Linked DNA regions of Homo sapiens: region 2 is linked to region 1. The links are contacts of gene promoters, found by promoter capture Hi-C in blood cells and fetal thymus (Javierre and others, 2016). All regions are on one chromosome and are shown on one strand. Each heading gives the region's core, a stretch centred on a gene start or on the middle of the fragment in contact. The rest is flanking DNA. Distances are from core to core; before and after follow the strand shown. Region 1 holds the start of TPRG1L (tumor protein p63 regulated 1 like). Region 2 overlaps C1orf174 (chromosome 1 open reading frame 174).

What was found. Contacts are between HindIII fragments. The CHiCAGO score rates a contact against its expected background, and 5 or more counts as called.
Region 2: a contact is called between a fragment that was not itself captured here and the fragment with the promoter of TPRG1L in region 1, in 1 of 17 cell types (monocytes). The highest score is 5.3, in monocytes.

Annotation. Positions count from the first base shown.
Region 1 is chr1:3,623,590-3,626,675 of GRCh38, forward strand. TPRG1L (tumor protein p63 regulated 1 like) reads left to right here and starts at 1,426. Exons shown (of 5, transcript NM_182752.4): 1 at 1,426-1,684; 2 at 1,835-1,926; 3 at 2,124-2,300. The coding sequence starts at 1,484. It also overlaps a transcript of MEGF6 not described here. RefSeq lists enhancers at 700-819, 1,800-2,462 and a silencer at 1,270-1,499. The HindIII fragment of the contact is 13,719 bases long and covers 1-3,086 here.
Region 2 is chr1:3,893,481-3,896,566 of GRCh38, forward strand. The region is part of intron 1 of C1orf174 (chromosome 1 open reading frame 174); the gene reads right to left. Among named protein-coding and RNA genes, the nearest start is that of C1orf174, 5.2 kb to the right of the region's middle. The HindIII fragment of the contact is 8,006 bases long and covers 1-3,086 here.

The DNA of each region.
Region 1 (3,086 bases), core at 176-2,675:
CCAGGGTCCTGTTTTGTAGTGCACCCGCTGTGGTGCAACATGCGTCTGGGCACACCAGCGTCGCCCGTTTCCTGTTGTAGTCTTTCCTCTCTGACTCCAGGGGTATTGGGTCTTTCTGCCAGCGCCCATGCAACTTTGGCAGCCTGGCCTGTCTGCTGGCAAGTGGGGCAGAATCCCTGCACTCCACCATTCTTGGGCAACACTCCCTCTAGGATTTTGGCCTCCCTTTTCTCTCTGGTCTTTGACCACCGCTACCCAGCAAACTCCTCCATCTAGACCAGCCAGCATTGGTTTCTTCCACTCCCCCAGCTGCCGCGTGGGAGGCGCCACTGCAAACTTCCCTGGGGTCTCCCAGCTGCTCAGAGATCCCCATGCCCTTCCCTGATCAGCTCCCTGCCCGGTTCTCATCCCGGCGATTCTAAACCGTCCATCTTTACAAATACTCCGCTCCATCCCCACTCCCTGACTGAAGTAAACAGATGTATCCTGAACTCCTCATTCTCCCCCCATCTCACTCTCCTCGCCTGTGTGCACCTCGCCTCGTGTGTCTTCCTCACCTCCGAGCAGAGGGATCTGTCCTCCTGCCCGAAGGTAACCCTGACCCCTGGACTCTGCGCCTCCTTCCCGCAGCCTCCACCAGATTGCGGGTCCGTTCACCGCCCCCCTCCACACGCGCTGGGGGCACCTCCGGGAGCTGGGGCTAGCGCAGGGCACACACATGTTCCACCTCGAACTGCGAGCGCTGACCGGGATCTCTGGGCAGCCCTCTCTGTGTGCACTGGCTTGCTGAAGGCTCGCGACAGCCTGGGCCCGGGCGCGCATTCCAGCACTTTCTACCCTCCGGCTTCAGAGTGCATTGCTCTGTGGATCCGTCACGAATAAGCCGTGTGTGAAGAACGCCAGGTCCCGGCAGAAGATCGCTGCCCGGCGTGCGAACTCCCCCACGGTGCACCAGGGCCGCCGCCCTGCATCCTCCAACCTCAGCTCCCCGGCACCGCGACCCTCCGTGCAGTGCGAGCCCCCGATGGGCGCGCGCCCCCACCTGCGCTCCAGAAGGCCGAAGGGGGCATCCCACTTGCAGGGCGGGTCACCCGCTTTCCCCGCGGGCCAAGGGGCTCCAAGATTCCCAGCCCCTCCTTCCCAGCCGCTCCGCGACACCCTGGCAACCGGCTTCGGCCCCGCCCCTTCTCGTTGTGTAAACAGGAAGTGAGCCTGCGCGTGACGGTCGCTTCCGGCCCGGCGAGGGGCGGGAGCGATTGTGAACGGCGGCGGGGCAGAGCCAATCGCGGAAAACGGCAGGAGGAGAGCCAATCCCGAGGGTCGGCGGACGCGGGAAGGGGCGGAGCCAGAGGCGGGGCCGGCAAGGCGGAGCCAATCGCGGCGGTCCGCGGGGCGGGGCCGGGGGCGCGGCCGGGTGGTGGCGGTGGCTGCGGCGACGGCGGTCGCGTCGGCGTCAGGGTCGGGGTCGGTAAGGGGTGCGGCAATGCTGCAACTGCGGGACTCGGTGGACTCGGCCGGTACGAGCCCCACGGCGGTGCTGGCGGCCGGCGAGGAGGTGGGGGCAGGCGGCGGCCCGGGCGGGGGGCGGCCGGGGGCGGGGACGCCGCTGCGCCAGACACTCTGGCCTCTCAGCATCCACGACCCCACGCGCCGCGCCCGCGTCAAGGAGTACTTCGTGTTCCGGGTGAGGCAGGGGCCAGGGCCGGGGCGGGGGCCGAGGGCGCGGGGCGGGATGGGGGCGGGTGGGGTCGGAGGCGGGCGCCGGGCGGTCCCGCAGGGAGCGAGCTGTGACCTGTGATCTTTGCCCCCGTCCCCCACCCCGCAACCCGCCCAGCCCGGCAGCATCGAGCAGGCAGTGGAGGAGATCCGCGTGGTGGTGCGGCCCGTGGAGGACGGCGAGATCCAGGGAGTGTGGCTGCTTACCGAGTAAGCCGGGGCTGCGCTCTCCTTGGTGGGGGGACTCGCCCCGAGCCGCCGCGCAGCACCTTGCGAGGACTTCCCGGGGTGCTCGTGCCACGCTCAGGCGCCCCGTGCCGCCCCTGCTGCCCTTCCAGGCGGGCTGGCCTTGGCTAAGTCGAGACAGCCGCGTCCAGTGTGGACTGAGGCCCCTCCTCTGCCTACAGGGTGGATCACTGGAACAATGAGAAGGAGCGGCTGGTGCTGGTCACGGAGCAGTCCCTGCTTATCTGTAAATACGACTTCATCAGTCTCCAGTGCCAGCAGGTGGTGCGGATAGCGCTCAACGCAGTAGACACCATTTCCTACGGAGAATTCCAGTTTCCCCCTAAATCGCTCAACAAGTAAGCCTGTTCAGAGTCCAGTATCACTGGACCTAAGCACCAGAGTGGACCTTACAATTCAGCCCTTTTAAATCAGCCCCCCAAGCGGTGTGTCTTCTCTGTCATTAATTATAAGCACAAAGGCTCCAGCTCCAAATATCAATGGGAAGTTCCTTAAAAAGAAGCGACTTCTGGGCAATTGAGTGCATTAAAAGGAATTCTGGCACAGAAGGCAGCTATTAGGCTGGTAGTAAAAAGACTTACATGAGTTCAGGATGCATTGAAGTAGAGCCCAGCGTGTTAAAAAGGAACTTGGATGTTCTTCAGGAAAAGTCCAAACTCTGCATTTTTCTCCAGCCAGGGACAGATTGCATATGACACATCAAGTCTTGCTCTGGCTAATTTTTTAAAGAGAAATGGAGGGTCCCGTTGTAATTTATAGATACCACTAAAAGACAAATTTGGAAATATTTAATGACCAGCTTTCAGGAGTTGATCTTTTTGCTGTAGGATAATTTTCTGACGTGAGGAACCTAAACATTACTACAGTCAGTTAAGCTGTAGAACTTGGGTTTTTGATGGAGAGATTTGGATGGGGGATTCAGGAAGCTAAAATAAAAATTTTACCTTTTGGTTAAAACATTTAATATGACATAAGGAAAAGGAAGATTACACTTCCTTTTCACTCATTTGGCTAGCCTATCTATAATTATTCCCTTTTTTTTTTTTTTTTGAGACGGAGTCCCACTCTGTCACCCAGGCACCAGTGGTGCAGTCTTGGTTCACTGCATCCTCCACCTCCTAGGC
Region 2 (3,086 bases), core at 239-2,738, 270 kb after region 1:
CCTCTCTTTTATCCTGAATGCAAAGCAAACTCCTCTAATAACAAGAAAGAAATTAATTAAAGACATAACATTTAAAATAACTATTTAGGAATAATTTTCGGCATTCAGAAAGTTGCAAAAAATAGTACAAAGAAACTGGTGTGATAGCTCACACCTGTAATCCCAGCTACTTGGGAAGCTGAGGTAGGAGGATCGCTCGAGCCCAGGAGTTCAAGACCAGCCTGGGCAATACAGCGAAAGCCCATCTTTAAAAAATTTTTTTAAAAATTAGCCAGGTGTGGTGGTGTGCACCTGTAGTCCCAGCTATGTGGGAGGCTGAGGTGAGAGGATCACTTGATCCCAGGAGTCTGAGGCTGTAGTGAGCTATGACTGCACCACTGCACTCCACCTGGGTGACAGAGTGAGACAGTGTCTCTGAAAAAATAATAATAATAAAATAGTACAGGGAGTTGCCATGTAGCCTTCACTCAGCTTCCACTAATGTTAAACAACTACAGGACATTGTCAACATTAAGAAATTAGTGACATTACGGTACTCTTCACTAAACTATAGATTTTATTTGTATTTTATCGGTTTCTCCATGAACCGTTTTTCTGTTCCAGAATCCAGTCCACAATACCACACTGCACTTAGAAAACTCGAAAGGAATGAGTGTGAGTAGTAGAAGCAACAAACAGGAGCAATGCAGGTTGACATGGCCGGGAAAGGCCCAAGAGCTGCTGCCAACAGGCCCTAGAACTGGAACCCAGAAGGGGACGGATGAAGAGTGCCCTGCCCAACAGCAGATAAGAGAAATAAAAAAAGGAAAAAAACAAAAAAATAAAACACAGAAATAATCTGTCTCGGCTGGGCGCGGTGGCTCACGGCTGTAATCCCAGCACTTTGGGAGGCTGAGGCAGGTGGATCACAAGGTCAGGAGATCGAGACCATCCCGGCTAACACAGTGAAACCCCGTCTCTACTAAAAATACAAAAAATTAGCCGGGCGTGGTGGTGGGCGCCTGTAGTCCCAGCTACTTGGGAGGCTGAGGCAGGAGAATGGCGTGAACCCAGGAGGCGGAGCTTGCAGTGAGCCGAGATTGCGCCACCGCACTCCAGCCTGGGTGACAGAGCAAGACTCCGTCTCAAAAAAAAAAAAAAAAAGAAATAATCTGTCTCAGCCATGCACCCCGTAGCCCAAGACAGCTCCAGAAACCCTGTGGGGTGGCAGCTCCAAGGTCCTGTGATACTGTGGCAGTCAGAGTGTGTGTCTGAAACAGGAGGGAGAAGAGCAGGCAGCAGCCCACCGGAGGCCAGGACGCCCGCCTGCTGTACACAGGACACGCCAGTTGCCCACAGGCTGGGTGAAGTGCCTGCTACCACAGCACACCGGGGGCTGCGCCTCCGTCCTCTCACAAGGGCAGGGCTTTGCTGAGAGCCCCGGCAGACGTCATGGTCACAGTTACACCAAGGGGACTGAGGCAACAGAGGTTACAGAACTTGCTAAGAGTTGCCATAAACATCTCTCATCAAAATCCTCCCACTGGGTCTTAAACAAGCCCATCTCCCTAAAACGCCATCACGTGCCTCGTAGGGAAAAGACATCTCTGACCTAGAAAGCCACTGCCCCACCTCTCCTCCCTGCTGTGAGCCCTCCTCCGGGCGCTTTGCTGCTCTGTGCTGGAGTATGCTGTGTGGGGAGCCCAGCTCGGTGCCTGAACAGCTTTAAAGGAGTGGCACACCCATTTCAGATGAGGACAACTTGGGTAAGGAGCTTATGAGGTTATACGAGTGATGCCTGGCTTCCAAATCTCTATTCCATCACCACAGCTCACCCTAGATATGACCCCCAACAACTGCCTGAGGTGGGGATTGAACTGAAGAAGCTGCCACCCGCTCTGTGTTCTACGCCTGCACGTCTTTTCCCGCAGCAGGTGCTTCTCAAGGCTTCTGTCAGCATCTTGGCAGCAGTGGTTCTGAACTTTTCGCGTGCAACAGGTTCATCAGGTGGACCTTTTGGCCCCTTCTGCAGAGAAAAGCCAGATGATCTGCTGGGCTGGAAGCGCTGGCTGTTAACAGACACCTGAGGATCTGGTGGGCCTGGAAGCGCTGGCTGTTAACAGACACCTGAGCAGGCCATTTGCTGTCCTCTCCGGATTGACAGGAGTCAAAACATGAGATCGGCTTAGCTTCAGTTTCGTCATGGATTAACCACCTCCAAGGTGTCAACTCCAAAATGTCAAGAATTGGTCACAGTCTCACTTGCAGATTCCTGCTCTGCAGCTGGGCAGCTTGGACTGCTCCCACAGTCCAAAAAAGGAAAGACTTTCTCATCATTGAGATTCTCCTCATTCCAGTAGATTGTTTAATAACTGGTATGTCAGAAGCACAAACATGGTTTCTCCAAAAGGGCTGGCCGAGACTGACTTCAACATGATGGCTCGAGGAGCTTCACTGACCTTCTCAGAGAGTAATGAGCAGTCCCAAAACAGCCATTTAGAGAGCCTTTGGAAATGGTCCTATGGGCACCCAGCAAATGAAGAAACACTTGCTCCAGAACACCTACATACATTTGGTAAGGACACGGAGAGTCTGTGGCACTTGAGCTCCATCCTGCTGCAGCCAAGAACACAGGGCCACCTCCCCAGCTCCCAGGCAGCGGGGTGTCTTCCCAGGAGAGGCAGGATAGCAGTGCTTCCCTTTCTGCTCTCATCCCACCTGTGACTGAGACCAGGTCCTGAGTGAGTAGGATTGAGAAGAGGGGCCCTCCTTTCTGCTCAGACCCTATTTGTAGAATGAAGGCTTCACCTTGGCTCCATTCTACCAGTACGGTTTAAGCCTCTGCAAGAGGCTCCGCCCAGTGAACGGAGAAGACTGGGGCCCCATCAACCCCGTCCTAGATATGAGGTGGTTCCAGGCTGGGGAAGACACATTTGGAGGATCTCAGGCTGCTGCTAGCTCCCCCAGCCCCTATTCAGAGAGGAGCCCATTACTGTCCTCAGCTGCAGGCCCTGGCTCAGAGGCTCTGCCTGGGATGAGAGGCAGGCAACTAAACAGACAGCTCTTACACCTGCCCAAAGGCACCAAATTCCCTGCCATGGAATGTG